Linked DNA regions of Homo sapiens: regions 1, 2 and 3 are each linked to region 4. The links are contacts of gene promoters, found by promoter capture Hi-C in blood cells and fetal thymus (Javierre and others, 2016). All regions are on one chromosome and are shown on one strand. Each heading gives the region's core, a stretch centred on a gene start or on the middle of the fragment in contact. The rest is flanking DNA. Distances are from core to core; before and after follow the strand shown. Region 1 overlaps COL23A1 (collagen type XXIII alpha 1 chain). Region 2 overlaps COL23A1 (collagen type XXIII alpha 1 chain). Region 3 has its middle 19 kb from the start of ZNF354B. Region 4 holds the start of COL23A1 (collagen type XXIII alpha 1 chain).

Region 1 (4,713 bases), core at 1,850-4,349, 150 kb before region 4:
GACACAGTGCCAAGCCCCTGGCAGGCTTGGTAAAAACTCTTGAGAAGTGTTACCCCCATTTTGCAAAAGAAGAGACTGGGGGTCAGAGAGGTTTCACTTCTCAGTTAAAGCTGCACAGTGGTAGACGGTGGAGCTGGGGTCGACCTGGCCTGCACAATTGACAGAACGCATTCAGAGCCTCATCTCTCGAATTGCTTGTTTCCTGGTGATCCCCCTCCCTAAGATCACAAGGCTGTGTAGAACAGGGATTTGAACCTGGGACTGTCTATTGCCAAGTCATATATTCTTAATACCCTGCCCTCCACCTCAGTGGAGTATAATCTTGTTCTTTTATCTAATTCCTGGTGGGAGCAAGCCTCGGCCAGGAGGTCATTCAGCTGGGAGTGAGCCACACTCCTGTTCCTGCCCTTCACCTCATCTGGTGATTAAAAGAGAAAAACATACAATACACAGCCCACAGGGGTCCTGGGCTCCAGGATCTGGTTCCAGAAACAGAAAGCTTACTTTACTGGCTGTCACAGAAATCTCGCTGTGACCCTAAAGTAATTTCCCCAACCTCTGGCTCTTTAGGACCTACCTGGGATGAAACAGGGTGCCAGGAGAGGTTGCAGGAGCAGAACTGAGCCGGGTCCAGGGAGCAGGAGGTCGCCAGGATCTGGTCCACTTCTATGGAATCCCCAAGCCCAGCAGGAGCCTCCCATGCCACAGTTGCCAGTGGATGAGTGGATGTGTGGTGGGGAGGAGGGTAGAAGGCTGTATGAGCTGGGCCCCAGCCGCTATCTGCCCAGCAAGGCATGTGGCCTGCCCAGGGGTCAGTCCAGCCTCTGAGCATATGGCCCTGGTCCCACTGAGTTCTCAGGGCCCAGGCCCTGAGGGTACCCACTGTCCCACCTGGATCACACAGTCATGGCCCCGTACTCCCCTACTTCCCTGCTGCTCACCTGGCCCCTCTGTGGCCAGACCTACGTCTCCATCAGTCCCAGGGCCAGCTCCTTCCCAATGTTCATCAGCCAAGATGCGGGAGTCAAGAAGCAAACCCAGTCCTGGAGGGTGCTTGTGGGACGGGACCCAGGACCCCAACCAGCAAGGGGCCTGGGGGGAGGTGGGATGTGGGGTCAGCCTCGGCTGGGCTGAGCTGCTCATGCCTGGTCTGAGTGCCCACCATGGGCTCAGAGGCCCCTGACCACCACAGTGATTAAACTTGAGGTTTAGGCAGGGCTGCTGCTTAGGCCTCAAAAAAATCTCAGCTAATGTGTCTTAATTCCCTGGAAGAGGACCTGGGGCCAAAGATGTGCAGGGGCACAGCTCCTCTGTGGCACCTGTCCCCATCCTCAGATCCTCTGCTGTGGTCCAAACCAAAGAATTAAGGGATTAAGTGTGAAGAACACAGACAGCACCTAGAGAACTGAAGACACCAGGGCACTTGGTAACACAGTCCAACTTTACAATATCAAGCTGAAAGCACAGCTCTGGCCCCTCCTCAAGTTACTGCTTTAAGAGTTAAAAGATACTTGGGTTACATGAGCAAGAATGCCAAACACCTGGAGGGGGAAAAAAAGGTATGTAGGAGCTATCATATTGTTTATTTAAATTTACTATCTGAAAATATCTGGGCAAGAAAAGTAAACATAAGTGAGCTTTCCAGCCAGATCTGGGGTCCTGGTGAAATAAACCGCTTTACCTGTAGGAACGCAGTTCATCCCTGTATCTGACTGGTGTTTATGTATCATATGCTATGGAGACCACAGAGCAGGCAACACACAGCTAACATGCTGGTTCCTTACCCAAAAATACCTTGAAATTCCTCTGTATCTGCATTTGTAAATATTTTATGTAAACCAGATGGGTTTACAGAACACGTGCAGTGGAATCTGGTTTTATTTTTTAGCAACATGTACTATAAAATGCTTCAGAAAAATAATCTGTACATTGAGAAGGAAAAAAAAAAGATTTCTGGGTCTACTTATAAAGAGCGAGAGAATCAAGAACACTCTTTTAGGAAATGCTAGCATTAGAAGCATCTGCTCAGAACTGACTCTTGGGTCCAAACAAGTTGCCTTCAAGCAGCAGTCCCCAAACGTGGCTGCGCGTTATAATCACCCGGGGAAAGGTTACAACTCCTAGTGCACAGGCTTCCCCCTGTCCCAACTGCACCAAAAGCTCTGGGTGGGACTCAGCACTTTAGTAGTTTGTAAAACTCCCCTGGAGCTCCCAGTGTGCACCTGCGCCTGAGAGCTTGACTCAGCCCAGTGTGCATTCAAATCACCTGGGAGCTTGAACCTCTCCATGCCCAGGCTGTGCGCAGATCAGTTACATCAGGACCCAGCCAGCAGATTTTAAAGTTTTCCAGGTGATTCAAAAGGGCAGCCAGGACTGGGAGCCACTCCCCTTACAGGATGTGGGAACCTTCTGAAGGGATGTGACTGCTGATCTGGCCATGCATGATGCATGGACAGGCAAGAGCCAGAGGCCCCGGCACCATCATCGCAGTCCAGATGGAAGTCTTGCTCCCAAGTCACCTCCATCTTTTCTCTCTCAGCCACTTGCTGATTGAGGCTGAGCCAGTTACCAAAGTCTCTGTGGCTCCTGCTCCTTCCATGCCAGACCCTGTTGAACACATCCCTGGACTCCAGCTCCTTGTCTCTGGTCCACCCAGAGCCGGAGCTTTAGCCTAGGACCCAGACTTCTCCCTCCTGCCTCTTCCTTTCCCTCTCAGTGACCCTCACCCGGCAGCTGGAGGAATCTTCTGAAGAGCAAGTCTCATCACATCTCTCCTCTGCTCAAATCCTCCAGCAGATGTGAAGACACGAGATAAGCTGCTGGTGGGAACACGCCACGGTGCAGCTGCTTCAGAAGTCAGCGAGGCAGTTTCTTAAAGAGTTAAACATACGTTCACCATGCAGTGCAGCAACTCCGCTCCTAGGATCTCCCCGGGAGAAATGAAAACATACGTCCATACAACTCAGATGCAAATGCTCATAGAAGCGTTCTTCAAAATAGCCCCAAACTGGAAACAATCCAAGCATCCATCATCTGGCAAATGGAGAAACTACAGTGTAGCCAATCAATGGAATACCACTACATGCTACAACATGGATGAGCCCCAGAAATGCGACGCTGAGTGACAGAAGCCAGACACAAAGGACTGGATTGTAGGAGTCCATGTGTACACGGTTTCTAGAAAGGACAAATCTGCAGAGACAGAAAACAGATCAGTGGTTGCCTGGGGCTGGGGGAAGGAACGGGGATTGACGGACATGGGCACCAGGGCGCTTTTTGGGGTGATGGAGATGTTCTAAAACTGGATGGTGGTTGGACAACTCCATACATTTACTAAAAATCATGGCCCTGTCCACTTACAATAGGTGAATTTTATGGTATATTTCAAATAAAGCTGTTAAAAAAACAAACCACTTCCTATGGCTCACACAGGAGAGAGTACAGCATCTTGCTGGACACCCAATGTGCTCCACCATCTGCAGATTTGCCTTTCCGGGACCAACTCCCCAGGACCCAAGCCCCGTGGAACTCTCTCCAGGCTCATGACCCCCTCTGGAATTCACCTCATAACCACCGCCAGCTTCTCCACCGCAAGCTCCATCTCATCCTTCAACACTCTGGGCAAATGCCGCTTCCTCTGGAAGTCTGCACCACCGCTAGGATAATGCTTAGCAAAAATCAATCTCTCTCATTAGAGCAGTGCTTTAAAAACTCACACTAATGGGTTGTGAAATCAACTGTGCTCTAACCAGTATTTTAAAAAATGAAATACAATAGAAAAGAGAATGCGGTGTATACAGTAAGTACCTTATTTCATGAGATGACTGTTTTCATCTTTCTTTTTTTTTTTTTTCTGAGATGGAGTTTCACTCTTGTTGCCCAGACTGGAGTGCAGTGGTGAGATCTCGGCTCACTGTAACCTCTGCCTCCCAGGTTCAAGCGATTCTCTTGCCTCAGCTTCCTGAGCAGCTAAGATTACAGGTGCCCGCCACCATGCCCAGCTAATTTTTTATATTTTTAGTAGAGATGGGGCTTCATGATGTTGGCCAGGCCGGTCTCGGACTCCTGACCTCAGGTGATCCACCCTACTTGGCCTCCCAAAAAGTAGGGATTACATGCATGAGCCACCATGCCCGGCCTACTGTTTCATCTTTCTATGTGTGTATTATCTCTATGTGTACTGAATTCTGGGTTGCATATTTCTTAGAGTGGCTTGAGGTTTAGAAAGTTACGAAACAGATTTCAACTAGACAAGGCACTCCTTGAGGGCAGGGGCTGTGCTCTGTTTCTCTCTGTATCCTTGTGGTCAGCATGGGGCTTGGGACCCAGAAATTACCCAATAAGACGTCTACTCTGTGAGAGTGGCTTTGCAAGCATGTTGATTAAAGGCCCTTTGTGTCGTATTTTTTTCCCTCTCACACAACATGCAAACATTCTTTAAAAAGCTGTTTGTTGGCTGACAGACCACACCCTACAGTTAAGACTGGCAGCAAAGCTCTGCAAGAAGTTCAATGACTGCTGTAAATCTCACTTATAAAACTAATACATACACGTGCATTTTTTAGAGTGAAGATATATAGCCTAAAAATACTAATAAAATAATAATTCAAATCTAAAACTCCACATGGGACAGGCTGCGTAATTTGCAAAATCAAAGTGTGGGACCCTGTTCACACACTATTGAGAATTTTAGAGGGCAACTGCAGAGCCGGA
Region 2 (4,618 bases), core at 1,218-3,717, 130 kb before region 4:
TTCTGAGTCATTCCCGTGCCTGTGGTGCTGTTGTAAGGGCTGGGAGGAGACTGGCCATGCGGGTTTGGAATTTCCCTCAATTCTGTTAACTGCAGGATTCATCCTGAAGCACCCACGCTTCAGCTGACCAAGGAATCTACCCCTTAATTTAAAAGTTTGCACTTTCACAGACTTCCAAAGTACAGAGCTAGGAGGGTTCTTAAGATTGGCCCACAGTAGACTTCTGTGGATTCAATTCATTGGTTCCTTCAGTCAACCAGCTCTCCACAATGCAGATGAGGGCAAAGATGAGGATGCTCTTCTCCCCATTCCACAGACAGGTGAAACGACTCGTTCACAGTCACACACTTTTTCAGTAGCAGTAGCAGACGAGGAATTCAAACCCAGGCAGTCTGTCTCACTTCTCACCACGATTCCATACTGACTCTCAAAACCTACTCCATGCCATGCCTGTGCCAGACCAGAGATATTAACATAAAAGAAAAAAATAGTTCCTAGTTTTTCAGGGCCTTTGGTCTAGGAGCAGGGGTATAGATATTGTGGCCAAAGTTTGTAAGATAAAACCATTTTATAGAAAAAGTTTAAATATCACACTCTTAAAAAAAAGAGACGTATTTATTTTTGTCTTTGCAAGCCCTCTGTCCGTCTTCATACGGTGGAGCACAGAAACAATTACACAGAAACACAACATATGGACAGTTAAGCAACAGCCCTGAAAAGTGATCACAGATGAAGTTAAAAGGGCTGTTTTCTAAAATACCCTGCCCACCCACCCTCAATCTTACCTCAAGGACCAGGTTAACAAAGCCAGGCGATGTTTGAGAATTGCTGACATGAAATGAAAAAGCTCATAGAGTACTTCATTCAAACGTTTTGAAATTTAAAAGCCTATGAAAAGCAACTCAGATCAAAAAGTGAACAAATGGTCACTTTCTCTATGGTTATCAAATAGTGCAGATAACCTAGGCCTGCAGGCTGCGTGCTGTCAGCTAAAAACATGCCTCCAGGAACAGGATGTGCATTGCTCTCCAGTGAGGTGATGCCAGGTGGGTGGGGGCAGGCCTGGCTTGGCTTGGGGTGACCAGAAAGGAGGAAAAGCCTGCAGTCTCCTGGCAAGGCATTTAACATCTGTGGGCCTCAGTTGCCTCGCCTGTGAAATGGGCATAATCACAACCTTTGGGCAGAATTATGAGACTCAGAAGAGCAGGCTCCCAGCAGTGACTCCCGGGATTCCCTTCCCTATCTCCCAACACACAAGATAACCACAGGCCCCTGGAGACCACATCCTCACTCCTGTGCAACCAGGAAGGCCTGCCAGAGTGGCTGAAGAGTGAATTCCACGCCGGTGTGCAGGCGTGTTCATTAATCCTTTATTGCGTGTATTAGTTTCCCGTGGCTGTTAAAAAATACCACAAATGGTGTGGGTTAAACGGCAGGAACTCATTCTCTCTCAGTTCTGGAGGCTGGAAGCCGGAGTCAAGGTGTCGGCTGGGCCTGCTCCCTCTGAGCCCCTGGCTAGGACTGCTCCATCCCCTTCCCGGCCTGTGGAGGCGCCTGCCATCCTTGGTGTCCTTGGCCAGCAGCTGGGCCGCTCCTCTCTGCTTCTCCCCATGCACGTGACGTGCACACAACGGTGGCCACGCAGTCTTGTCAGGTTGGATTAAGGACCTGCTCCCCTCCAGTCTGACTTCATTTAACTCATTACATCTGCAAAAGACCCTATTTCCAAATAAGGTCACATTCAGAGGAACTCCTGCAATCTTTCCGGGGGGGACACAGTTCAACCCGTACCACTGAGCAGTCGCTGACTGGGTCACCGATGAAGGCGTGAAAAGTCACGCACGGGCCTGCCCGTGGGCCCGCCCTAAACCTTTCCAACCCGTTTGGGAGGAGTCCTGGTGCAGAGTGACAGCTGGGGGCCAGGCCACAGGCACCAGCATGGGAGGGCTGCCCGCCTGACCCTGGCATCGGCTGACACAGCAGGGTGGAACCCCAGGGGGGCTGCAGCCAGGGCAAGTCACTCAACTAAGTAAGCTTAGGTCCTCCTGTGTAAAGAGAGTAATAACAACACCTGGCCACCTGCATGAATAAGGCAGCTCTCAGGCCACAGAACCCCAGAATCTCAGCCTGGGAAGCACCATCCACCCAGCTGACCAAGCGAGAATCACGGGAGTCCCCCTGCATCAGCCTCCACATCCAGGCATGACACCGGCCCTCCCTGGCATCTCCGCCATCGCTTCTGTGTGTTTCCTCTCTGCCACGCGGACGGACCGCACCTCAAGGCCGAGAGCTGGCACCTATCCCCTGCCCACCCATCCCACCAGGCTCCACGAGGAGGTCAGAGCGGAGGACCAGCCCTCTACAGTGGCCCTATGTCTGACACTGGCTCCCTCAGCTCGCCCGCCCATCAGGAGGAAGCCAGACTCCACCTAAGGCCATTCCAATCAATAGACCACCGAGATGGTTTAACTTAATGAATAATTCTCAGGTGTATTTCGAAGAATAAACAGGCAAGAGTAGCTAAGACAATTTTTTGAAAAGGAAAAATAACAAGAAAGGGACTTGAGTTGTTAAGGTGGATTACATAACCACATGAATTGAAACAAATGGGCACTTGGTGCAGATTTTGAAAAGACTCTCATATACCAAACAATTTCGGGTACAATAGGAGAGAAACACAGATTGTTCTGCAGATGGTGTTAGAACAACCAGTTATATGGAAGATCCTCAAGTCATATCCTTCCCTCAACCTTGCCACCATAATAAGTTACAGATTTTCAAAGAGTTATACGTAAAAATAAATGAAGTCTTCTATACTTCCCTAGGCTTCTATAATTCCATGGCAAACATGGATTACTTTTGTAGTGAGGGAATAAACAATAAAAATGGAAAAAATAAATGAAGCTTTATATTAAACCAGAAGGAAATACAGCGAAACATGTAACCGATATCAGATGGGACTGGACAATGAGAGAAACAGTCAAAAAACTCGAGAGTTTGGCCGGGCATGGTGGCTCACGCCTGTAATCCCAGCACTTTGAGAGGCTGAGCTGGGCGGATCACCTGAGGTCGGGAGTTCGAGACCAGCCTGACCAACATGCAGAAAGCCCGTCTCTACTAAAAATACAAAATTAGCTGGGCGTGGTGGCGAATGCCTGTAATCCCAGCTACTCAGGAGGCTGAGGCAGGAGAATTGCTTGAACCCGGGAGGTGGAGGTTGCGGTGAGCCGAGATCGCACCATTGCACTCCAGCCTGGGCAACAAGAGCGAAACTCCATCTCAAAATAAACAAACTCCAGAGTTTAAAGTTTTAAAATTGTACTAGAAAAAAAAATGATAAAAACTGAAAGGCAAGTGACAAAGTGAGAAAAATTTTTGCAACAAACGTAACGAAGGATTGTTTTTCTTAAGATAGTAAAAATGTCTTGCAAATCAGTAAGAAAAGCAAGAAAATTCCCTGATTTCCCCTCCACAGACAATTCAAAATGGAACTATAACCGTCCAACAAGCCTATGGCTGATAATGTAAACATGCAGAGATAAAACAACACACCCTGTTTTGGGTTTGTTTGGTAAAGAACCATTCATTACTATTACAGTTAATGAAAAATGTTAATCATGGTGCAGGGATACAGGCCCTTCCATGCACACCTTGTTCCAAAAAAGGTGTGGGCCACGTGTCTGAGGCACTTAAACACATCTACTCTCTTTCACTATCTCACTTCAGTCTAAGAGTCTGGACTAAAAGATTGAACAGAAATAAAAGTCAAAGGTGAAGATGTTTATCACATCATTCTTTTTTTCTTTTTTCTTTTGAGACAGAGTTTCACTCTGTCGCCCAGGCTGGAGTGCAGTGGCACAATCTCGGCTCACTGCAGCCCCTGCCTCCCAGGTTCAAGCAATTCTCCTGCCTCAGCCTCCCGAGTAGCTGGGACTACAAGTGCCCGCCACCACGCCCGGCTAATTTTTTGTATTTTTAGTAGAGACGGGGTTTTGCCATGTTGGCCAGGCTGGTTTCGAACCCCTGACCTCAAGTGATCCGCCCATCTCGGCCTCCCAAAGTGCTAGGATTACAGGCACGAACCACTACGCCCGGCCACAGAGTTCTTTATAATAGCAAAAATTTCAATGTAATCTTAATGTTCAAAAGTAGAAAAAAATTTTACTTCAAATATGGAATATTATGCCCCCATTAAAAAGGTTTTCCTTAATAACAAAAAGAAGTGCCCAAACAAAACCAAAAGCCACTTAAATTGCGTTTGGTAACACAATTTCACAGATTGTTGGAGGCAGTGCTGTGATTATCATCCTCAGACTGCTGCATGTGTATCATGGAATAAAGCAAGTGAGTTAGGTGCTGCTGCTGAGAGGCAGGATTTTCAGCCAGAGTAAAAGATCATGTTAAGTAAAACTAGGTAGCCTTGAATTTAAACTGAAAACAGCAGCATGCACTTAAGATGCATTTTATCTTAAAAACAAATAGGCAAACGTTTTCTAGTTCTGTGCTGAAAAGGCCTAATAACTAATGAGTTTCAATGGGTATCCACAGCACCCATATTCACTGTGGTCTCTATATATTTCCTCTTTAAAAGAACAGATAAGGTCAGTCTGGACCATCT
Region 3 (5,018 bases), core at 2,198-4,697, 250 kb after region 4:
CCCAGTGCTGCTCCCGGTCTGGAAACTGTCATCCTCCCAGAGGGACGGGAGACAGAGGCCTTGTCCCAGGTGCCAGCCAGAACAAACTACATCCCTTTGGCAGCATCCAGTTTTCTCAGGCAGGCAACTAAGGGGCGCCCGCGTTATCTGAGGGGTGTGGCCTCCAGCGCTGGTAACTGTTAGTGTTTGCTGAAGTCTCCATAGGCCAAGGCTGGGTGGGGCCTGGTGGAGAACGGGGCTCAGAGGGGCCTGGCTGGAGTCCGGTCCAGGACGTTCTTTGTCAAGAGAGCGAGTTAACCGGGCCCTGGGAGCCTCCATTTTCCCTTGCATATCTGTGAGGAGCAAGAGATGACGTGATCCAGGAGCCTCCCGGCTCCACATCCCACAGACGCCCTTTCTGATAAAGGAGCCGGGCGGGCACCGCGACTGCGCCCACTGGAGGCCCTGAAGTAGCAAGGCTCCTGGAGCGCGTCCTGCGCTGGAGTCCTGGAGGATGCCACAGATCTGGAGGGGGTGGTGGGGTCCTGTCCCAGACTCGCCTTAAACGCTGCGAGGACAACGACCCCCCCAGCCCGCCTCCACCCTCCAGCCTGCCTCAGGCAGGAGGCGCAGTAGTCCCCTCTGCAAGCTGCAGATTCCCCACCCTGGCTCCAACTGACCATAGTTGAAATCGAGCTGGAGGCGACAACAACATCCTAGAAACCTGAGTCCCCGCCTCAGGGTATTGATGCCCTTTACTGATTGTAAAGCCAGTGTGGAACTCTGCAGCCTTGGCTCAGAAACGCAGCTGCTGAGTGTCCTGGAGCAGGTGCGACCAGAGGACATTGGCAGGGGAGCAGTGCCTCCTGGTGGTCAGTGCATGCTGGCCTCAGTGACGGGAGAACCTTAAGGCTGGTGACATTCAGTACCCAAGCAGGCAAATCACAGAGGTGGCTGGGGGTGTGCAGGGCTAATGGGCAAACTAGAGCAATGGAATAATGTCTTTCCTCTCAGATAGGGAAACGTTTTAAAAATAGATAATGCTCAGGGCTGGCGGGGGCACACGGAAACTGGCACTGCCATACACTGCCAGAGGAGAAAGGAAAGTGGGTGCTGGCCCTGGGAGAGGTTTCTTGGTTTGTTTTGTTTTGTTTTTGAGGGGTAGTTTGTTTTTTTGCAGAGGCAGGGTCTCACTATGTTGCTTAGGTTGGTCTCGAACTCCTATCCTCAAGTAATCCTCGAGCCTTGAGTTCCCAAAGTGCTGGGTTACAGGCATGAGCCACCAGGCCCGGTCCCTGAGAGCCTTTGGGAACTAGGAATCAAAAGTCTTTCTCTGGGGTGGGGCAGGGGGTGCGGTGTACGTGTGCAGGGGTTTCGAAACTTTGTGGCTTGGCCGTGGATCTCATGGCGTGAGAGTCTCACCTCAGTTTCATGGGCGAGATTGGCCCTTGTGGAGTTTGAGTCCAACCCAGAAGAAACAAGGAAGCCTGGGTCTTCTCCAAGTGTTGCAGCAAGCTGGCCTGGGGTCCCCCCAAAGGTAGCCAGAGACAAGCCCAGGATCACCCAGTCTGCAGCAGGGTGCAAAGGTTTGGGGGTCCCCCACAAAGGCAGCCAGAGCCAAGCCCAGGGTCCCCCGAGCATCAGCAAGATCTACACCTGGAGTCACCTCAAAGACAGCCAGAGTCTAGCTCCAAATCCCCACAATGTCAGCCAAAGCCAAGTGAGGAGGCACCACGGTGTTCTCAGGGCCAGGGAGAACCAGCCTCCGAGTGGGCCCAGAGTCCAGAGGAGCTGACTCGGGGGGTGGGGGTGGCATGAGCACCTATACCCGGGCCCAGGATCACCAGAGCCTTACCCCAGTCAGCAGGTGCCGAGTTCAGAGCCGTCACGGCCAGTACGGGAGCTGACACCCAAGGCACCTGGCTCCCTGCTGGGGTCAGCAGGAGCCAAGCAAGCTGCCTCTAGCTGGGGAGAGGTAACAGGCGGCCATGGGGCAAAGAAGGAAAAAGGTTCTTCAGTCCAGGCTCCAGTATCCAAGAAGTCGAAGGAGGAGGAGGAGGAGTTTCCTATAATCCAGAAGGGGAAGCCCACATTGCGGGAGGATGTGGAAGGACTACTGCAAGAAAAAGTTATCCCAGATGGTTCAGGACAAGCCCCTGCACACATCCTGGCAGTGGAAGATGAAGGAACAGCAGGAAAGGAAGCTTGCCAAGGATTCTGCCCCTAACCTGGAGGAGGAGAAGGAAAGGCACTGCCAGGAGAAGAAACAGCGCTGGGCCCAAGAACCTGAAACATCACCTATAGAACGAGTGGAAGGCAGAGATTGTCCAAGTGATCCAAAGCCCCACCAAGCTCAAGCTGGTGAGGACACAGCAGCTGTGCTCCACTGAGAAGCGGGACACCCTGCCCCTGCTGCAGAAGCAGCCATCCCAGCAGCCAGCAGGCAAGGTCTGAGCTCAGGACGGCCCCGAGGCCCTCTATGGCCAGCAACCATGTCAGACACAGCACCTCAAGCCACTGGCCAGATGCCTCTGCTGGAGTCAGCACTCCAAACCTATGGCTGCAAAATGGTGACCCCCACCCTGGCCAGGGCTCCTGGGCCTTTGACGTCTTTTAGGCTGGTCTGTGTGGGACAGAGGCCCAGGGGGGTCTGGGATCTGGCAGAGATGGGGGTGAGAAGAGATTCAGCCCCCTCCCTTCTTCCTCTCCTTCTCCAAGTGCCTTCAGACCAAGAACAGTATATTCTTCGGTTCCTCAGTGAGCTGGCGACTAGCAGGTGACTCCCACAGATGTTGTATGTCCTGTCTCAGGGTCCTAGGTCCAACCCAGGCCCAAAGGCTGGCAGTCAGGAATCCAGCTTCCCCTACACTTTCCCAAAGGCTGCTCTGAGCACCTCTGCGCCCCACTGGCTCTGTCTTCGAGCAAACTGAATCCACCTCCTCCCCACTTTTCAACACTGAAAGATGAAAATGGGGAGATTGCAGGGAGCAGTTTCTCCCTAGCACCCTCTTGCCCAAACCAGACTCCTCAGAAGCATCAAAGATCTAACTCATGTCTACCCAGTCTACAAAGAAAATATTTATTGAGTGTCTGTTGCATACAGGTACAATTCGAGTCACCAGGGAATACAGACAATAGACCAAAGTCCCTCCCCTCAATGAGCTTTCATTCTGATGGAGAGAAAACATAGTAAACAAGCAAAATGTGTCATGTGTCAAAAAAAAAAGTCTTTCTCCAAATGCATACACTTCGATCTAGCTATTCCACTTGTAGGAATTTATTTGTAAGACTGTATAAAGTATATACAGAGTCTTATAGTATAAGGTGTAGATCTTGCTGATGCTGGGGGGACCCTGGGCTTGGCTCTGGCTGCCTTTGTGGGGGACCCCCAAACCTTTGCACCCTGCTGCAGACTGGGTGATCCTGGGCGTGACTCTGGTTGCCTTTTGGGGGACCCCAGGCCAGCTTGCTGCAGCACTTGGAGGAGACCCAGGGTTCCTTGTTCTGGGTTGGACTCGAACTCCACAAGGGCCAATCTCATCCGTGAAACTAAGGAGGCTCTCAGGCCATGAGATCCATGGCCAAGCCACAAAGTTTCCAAACCCCTGCACACGTACACTGCCACCCCCCAACCCCAGAAAAAGACTTGTGATTCTGTATAAAGTGTAAAAAGGAGTAGTAAAAAAGAATTAAACAGAAACATTCGTTATCGTAGCAAAATTAAGAAAATACGCAACTGTTTAAACACATTAAGATCCTTATTCAAGTAGTAAAACGACTATTTTGTCATTGAAATGGCTTTACAAAATATTGGTAAATTAAGTAAAATGAGGGTTTGAAATAATATGTGCACTCTGTGTCGTAGGCCAGGTGATCCAGAGCAGGCAGTGGAGGGCCTGAGGCGTACAAGGGACCCTACTAGGGATAAACCCATGAAAAAAGCAAGCAGAAACAGGCTTGGGCAGAAGTCAAAACCGTTGCAGGCTCAGCAAAACCTCTGCCAGCCAGCCAGGATGCCAGAACAAGCATCGCCCCCTCAGAGTTGGCTGGGCCAAGAAGAGATGGCCAGATCTTTATACCCAGGCCTCAGGCACCTGAGGGGGCTCCCCAGGGAAGGCCCTGAACGCTGGGGGTGCTCTCTTTGGCTCAGGCATACCCTGAAGCAGCCAGCCAGGCTCTAAACAAACTCCCACAACTGGACAGCAAGTCCTCCCCAAGGAGGGTCCAGGCAGCACATCTATGCATCTACCACATTCTGCTGGTACTAGTAGTAGTAATTTTCAGAAAATAAATTGTGTCTATCTATACAATAATAATAAGCATATGGAATCCATAGGTGTAAATATTTATAAGATAATTAGAAATGTAAGAAAATGGTTGGAGTAAATAAATATTTAAATTCCTGGGATAGGCTGGGCGCGGTGGCTCACGCCTGTAATCCCAGCACTTTGGGAGGCCAAGGTGAGTGGATCACGAGGTCAGGAGTTTGAGAACAGCCTGGCCAACATAGTGAAACTCCTTCTCTCCTAAAAAAAAATACAAAAAAATAGCCAGGCGTGTTGGCAGGAGCCTGTAATCCCACCCACTCGGGAGGCTGAGGCAGGAGAATCACTTGAATCCAGGAGGCGGAGGTTAACAATTGGTTGAGTTTGTCTAAAGACCTGGGATCAAACAGAAAGAAATGTCTGGGTTAAGATGAGAGGTTGTGGAGACCAAAGGTTTACCATGCAGATGAAGCTTTCAGCTAGCAGGCTTCAGAGAGAATAGGTTGCAAAATATTTCTTACCAGACTTAATGTCTGTGTTGATGTTAATGCTGGAGGGGTGTAGAGGCATGTCTGACTCCCACTCCCCAAGATGGCCTGAACCAGTCTCTCAGGTTACATTTTAAGAGCCCTGGCTGAGGGGTCTTAAGATGGTTGAGGGGCCTTAGACTTTTGTTTTTGGTTTATAAGTGGTTCCAAAATGCTGGTACATAAAACCATCTGTGGGACGTGTAAAAAAGCAGGTTTCCGAGTCTTCAGTGACCTCGTTTTTCTA
Region 4 (5,216 bases), core at 1,643-4,142:
CTTTTCTTTAATGTGGACATGGTTTCTGCCTCTGGTTCTCTGGAAACAAGTTTGCTGTAGGACAAGCTGCCCGCACACTCACATACACGGAAAAGAGGCTTCACTGAGAACAAATCAGAACTGAAAAACAGCTTCAAGTACAAATGTTCTTTTCTTCCGAGATTTTGAGTTCAATATTTATTTGGCTTTCATATCTAATGGCTTGAAAAAGTATCTATACATCTAATTAGAGTTAATTACTCACTCCCTGTATGTGCCTCCCACAGTGCTCTCCTCCCAGCCAAGGAACTCATTGTTACCGGCCAGGCTGTGTACATTTCCCATCCAGTGACATTTACAAGAAGAATAGCTCCTAGCAGAAACAGGCTGGTACCCTAAGAGAGAGAAGCTGTCTCACAGGGGCCACCCAAACAACCAGAAGTTCAGCCCCAACTGCATTCATACTGCACCATCTCTGACTCTCCACTGGCGGGAAAACCCAGCCAGCTTACACTCCACGCACAGCATGCGCCTCAGATACCCAGCTGGGATTAGCGAGCAGGACCACGTGTGAATGGCACGGCAAATTCTCCAGAATACAGGGTTCCCTGGATTCTAAATTTTTCTCTTGCCTTTCTAATCAAGAACAGAGAGAGAGAGAGAACACACACCCTGTCCAATAACTCATTGTTCAAGCACTGTAGTTCACCCAGGTAAAATTCAGTGCAGCCGGGAGGGGGGAAGCCTGGGAGAGCAACTGCAGTCTCTCCCGCTGAAGTTCAGGACTCAAAAATCAACACTTCCCAGCAGTGGCTGCCTGCCCAGGATGCCCCTCCCTCCTAAAATAGACACAATTTGTAGTTCCTTGTAAAATGGTTGTATCAGGACTTCTGATTTACTCAATCAGGGCTTGCGGTTTATTTTTAGCAAATAAGAGAGGCCTCCTATGAGAAAGAGCAGCCACACTTATAGCGCTAACAGGTAGAAACTTTACTGGCCCTCTATAAATCAATTCAACACCCTGGTCTCCAGGCATTTGCCAAAAGCTAATGGGCGGCAATTATGAAACCATCGCCAGGAGTTTCCAGCAGGGCTGAGAGAGAGTTTTAAGTCTGCAGGCCCTTTCAAGGGTAAAATAGGAAATCATTTCATGAAGCAGCAATTTTACCCAGAACCCAGCTAGAAGAGATGTGATCCTAGCTTAAATTAAAGTGACTAAGAAACAGGTGGGGTGAACAAGGAGGTGTGGTACGCAAGTCATCTTCTCCCACTTTCCTTTGGAATCCAAAGGAACTCAACATTGGAAACACAGCTGGATACGTTAATAAAGATCCCAGCTGGGCAGTCTAGGGAATTGGGGGTGTACAGGCCAGTGCTCCCTCTCCTCCACCTTGAAACCCTGCCTGTTTTCACACAGCAATTGAGGATGCGCCCTTGGACAGCGACCTTGGGGTCTGGAGCAGCCATCTATCCCAGGAGAAGGAGGAAGGCTCGGCAGGGGAGGCTCTGGCCAGCCCACCAGGGCCTGTCCAGTTTCGTGGGGAGGGGAACTGCCGCACATGCCGCACACAAAAGGCGGAGGCTTTGACCAACATGCTGGGTGAGGGCTTGGAGGACCCAAAGGTGGCTCTTTCTTTGAAGACACACAGCAGCAATCTTAACCCTTAGAAGTGTCACAGAGCCTCATATGAGCTTTCAAGTAAGCTGTGGAAGTCGCGATTCCCAGGTAAGGGACGGGAAACTCCGGATGTCCTGCGAGCCCACACCCCAGATGGCACCGCCTGAAACCAGAATCCAGGTCCTCCACCCCCGATTGTTTCTCCTTCCTCTCATCTTACCAAGTCATGTGGGCGCCCCCACCCCCATCCCCGAGGCCTCAGTGCGACGGTGACCGCTCAGTCTTGGGGCCTGAGCTGCTGGAGACACACTGGAGCACAGCGGGGCCCAGCCCTCGGGCCTGTCTGAGGCTTTCCTCCGCCGTGACCACCGCCTCTCCAGGTGTACCAGCGTTGGTTAGGAACAGTAGGTGCTACTGGTCACAGTCACCAGATACTTCCCACGAGCCTCATCTTTATCCCCGACTCTGGCCGCCGGCGGGAAGCGGCGTGTCCGAGCGCACACCCCGTGGAGACTGACCCTAGGTCTGTTACTCCAAAGTCCCTGGTCTCTCCTTCCCCTTTCTCGCGGCCGCCTGCCTGGCACGGGACCCTGAGGCCGGAGCGGAGACCGCAAAACCCCTTGGGGCCGGCACCCCCTGCCTCCGCCTTGGCGCAGACGTGCCCATCTCTGGGACGGCCCCGAGCGCACGCAGCCGGCGGGCGACCCTCCTCCCAGAGACCTGCACGCTGCCCCCGGCTCCCAGCGTACCGCCACCCTCAACCCGACACACCCAAGTCCGCCCCAGCCACGCGCCAAGACGCTCACCTCCCGCAGCAGGCGCTCCAGGTGCGGCTCGGCCCAGGCGTCCAGGGCGCCTGGCGGCCCCGCGCGCCGCAGCAGCTCCCGCTCCTCCTCGAGCGCCGCCACCCGGCCCTGCAGCGCGGCCGCCTGGACACCCAGCAGCAGGCAGGCAGCCGCCGAGCCCACGGAGAGCAGCAGGCACAGCGCGCTCACCGCCCGGGACCCGGCCGTCGTCGCCGAGCGCCCTCCGCCGCCGCCGCCCGCCGCATTGCCCTTCCCCGCGTCGCCGCCGCCACCGGCGCGCTCGCCTGGGCCCATGGCGCGTTCGTCGCGCGTGGACTCTCCGAGGGGGCGGTGCTGCTGGGGCAGAGGCTGGGTGCGAGAGGAGCAGGCGGGACAGCCCGAGGCACGAGGTCCGCCGGGCGCGGGGGTTAGCCTCCGGGTAGCAGCGGATCGCCGCGCACGCCCCCTTCGCCGCAGCCAGCTCCTCCACAGCGGCCACTTTGGGCAGTTTCCTCTATGCAAATAGACCCTGCCAGAAAAGGAGCAGGGACCCACCCAGGGGAGGAGCGGCCGGGCTGGCCCCGCGCGGCGAGGGGGCGGGGGCGAGGAAGGAGCGAGCTCCTCGGAGCCACCCGTCGGCGCCGGGCTGATCCCACGCGCAGCGCGCACCTCTGCCCTCACCTAGCCCGGGCGCCGGCACCCGCCCCCGCACGCACCTCTGAGGCTTCCCCAGCCCAAGCCCGCACTGTGGACCCCAGAGGTCGGAGGGGAGCCCGGCGACACCGCGCCCCTTCTGCAGCCCACCCCTGGCTGGAGCACCCACCACTCGTGCCTTAGCACATTCCTCTAAACTTGTGAATTACCTTTCTGACACTTGTAAAAGTTCAAAACTTCAAATCCTGCAAAAAACTGAGTGGGTCTGTCCTCGGTGGTGGATTAGCGCCGCTTCGTGGCGGAAAGCGACCTCTGCGCACTCACATTTAGAGAGGCAGGGTCGAGATTGCGCCAAACAGAAATACGCCCCTTAGAATCTTCTCACGAGTTCTTAGCTGCCGGACTTCGGTGCGGGAAACAAAAATGGTAAGACTGTTTCTGGCCTGGAGAGGGCTTTTGAGAAAACTGAGACTATAACGAATGGGAAAGATTCAGAAAATGAACTTCAAGTCTTGTTCAACTGATGACTTAATTCTGTATTAGACGCACAACTTGGCCAAAAATTATGATCTAGTATGCACCACACTTAACCTGTACTGCGATTCTGCTGCAAATTTAAATCACAGGGCTGAGGCAAGAAGGCTGTGGCGTACAGCCTGGGTCCAGAGAACAGAATGAGTGGCACTAACAAGTCTTGGCAGGAAAGGGAAGAACTGCTGGAAGTCAGGCTGGGTTCAGATTCCTACCAGGCATATTCATGTCCTAAATGGGTCCCAAGTAACTCTTTCGCTAACTCCTGTAATACCTAAATGAAACAACAAACCAGCAGTTCAGATCTTTGTGATTTGAGTAACCCCCCAACCATTTTTTTTTAAGAAAAATAACGTTATATCCATCTTCCCTCTCACTCTGGATATCTTCTGGTTGTCTCATTTCTGTGGATACTCACCTTTTAGAACTGTTGAGTGCCTCTGGCTAACATGTTCCATCTCCTTCCCTTAATTCAGAGGGGAACCCCTGAGATGGCCGGGGGTTATGGTTGATAGACTTGGCTCTGTGCTAAAGTCTGGTGTATGCCCAATAGAATGAAAAGTTGGCCTCATTCTGAAAAGAGGCCAACACCCTCTTACAAGTCAGCACTACATTTCTTACAGGCACATAAACTGCACACCACCTACCTATGTTAATGTTACTGCATGTATTGTTTGCCATGTTCCTGAAGCTTCTGTGTATTGAAAAAGCCAAGCTCACTGGCCCCTGGGCCTCTGCCCTTGCCTACCACCTCACTACCTGCATTCCTGCTCTCAGATCGTTAAACGGCAAGCCCCTCCTCATCCTCCAGGTCAAGGTCCTCAACCTCACTGCTTCTAAAAGATCTTCCCAGACTGCCCAATTTAAGGTGGCCCACAAGATTAATCAGGGAATTGGGGCGGCTGAATTAAGATGGAAATACTGTCTGCAACTCATTCTAAAAGGCGAAAAAGAAAATGACTTACTTGTGTCCATTAGGGTCCTGGAAGAATAGATGGCATCCTCAGAGAGGGTGACTCAAGACAGCCTGAATGTAGAGCCACTTCACAAAGTGGAGATCAGAGGGGCCAGCAGGGGAGGCCGAAGCAGCACTCTGCGGGTATTGACAGTGGGAGGCCATTACCATCCCTAACTGGGAACCCTGGGGAACTTGGAGCTATAGAAGAGGGCTGCTCCACAGCACCTGTGGCCCTTGGTTAAGGGGAACAGCCTCTGCAAAGCCATGGCTTGAAAGGGAGGGAGCTCACAGAATAAATACTCAACTGCTCTCTCCTGCTCTCTGATCTACTGGGGCCTTCCAATGACCAAACCTCCAGGGCAGGGGCCAGCCTCCTAGAGGGCAGAGAGCAGAGGCAGAAGGAAGAAGGGCAGATCTTGAGGGGGAATAAAAGAATATCCACTAACCTATCGTGTGTAGCATCACCTAACAGGTAGACAGCACTTACACCAATCCCGCTACTGCTGCCTATGAATGGCTAACCTGTCAGCAATAGACTAAACAAGGTACTCCTCAGGCAGACTAACTGGCCACGTGGTGGCAAAACAGCTACTTTGGATTCCCTCCTTCCTGCAAGGACCAATGGTTTGCCCCTCACAGGGACAGCACCAGGTGTGGGCTTGTCTTTCCTGCCTGCAGAGCCTCAGCCAGC

Evidence for each region. The method cuts DNA at HindIII sites, captures the fragments that hold promoters and counts their contacts. A CHiCAGO score of 5 or more calls a contact.
Region 1: a fragment that was not itself captured here is called in contact with the fragment with the promoter of COL23A1 in region 4 in 1 of 17 cell types (M2 macrophages); the score reaches 5.9 in M2 macrophages.
Region 2: a contact is called between a fragment that was not itself captured here and the fragment with the promoter of COL23A1 in region 4, in 6 of 17 cell types (M2 macrophages, M1 macrophages, M0 macrophages and 3 more). The highest score is 10.7, in M2 macrophages.
Region 3: a fragment that was not itself captured here is called in contact with the fragment with the promoter of COL23A1 in region 4 in 1 of 17 cell types (M2 macrophages); the score reaches 7.0 in M2 macrophages.

What each region holds. Positions count from the first base shown.
Region 1 is chr5:178,436,778-178,441,490 of GRCh38, forward strand. All of the region lies in intron 2 of COL23A1 (collagen type XXIII alpha 1 chain), which reads right to left. LOC124901148 (a long non-coding RNA gene) reads right to left here. Exons shown (of 2, transcript XR_007059080.1): 2 at 1,861-4,713. Among named protein-coding and RNA genes, the nearest start is that of COL23A1, 150 kb to the right of the region's middle. RefSeq lists an enhancer at 363-866. The HindIII fragment of the contact is 5,204 bases long and covers 498-4,713 here.
Region 2 is chr5:178,453,418-178,458,035 of GRCh38, forward strand. All of the region lies in intron 2 of COL23A1 (collagen type XXIII alpha 1 chain), which reads right to left. All of the region lies in intron 1 of LOC124901148 (a long non-coding RNA gene), which reads right to left. Among named protein-coding and RNA genes, the nearest start is that of COL23A1, 130 kb to the right of the region's middle. The HindIII fragment of the contact is 870 bases long and covers 2,033-2,902 here.
Region 3 is chr5:178,838,707-178,843,724 of GRCh38, forward strand. It overlaps the pseudogene LOC100129457. Among named protein-coding and RNA genes, the nearest start is that of ZNF354B, 19 kb to the right of the region's middle. RefSeq lists a silencer at 662-956. The HindIII fragment of the contact is 2,533 bases long and covers 2,182-4,714 here.
Region 4 is chr5:178,587,501-178,592,716 of GRCh38, forward strand. It overlaps COL23A1 (collagen type XXIII alpha 1 chain), which reads right to left and starts at 2,893. Exons shown (of 29, transcript NM_173465.4): 1 at 2,404-2,893. The coding sequence starts at 2,697. RefSeq lists an enhancer at 1,339-2,239 and a silencer at 2,895-3,094. The HindIII fragment of the contact is 4,652 bases long and covers 1-4,256 here.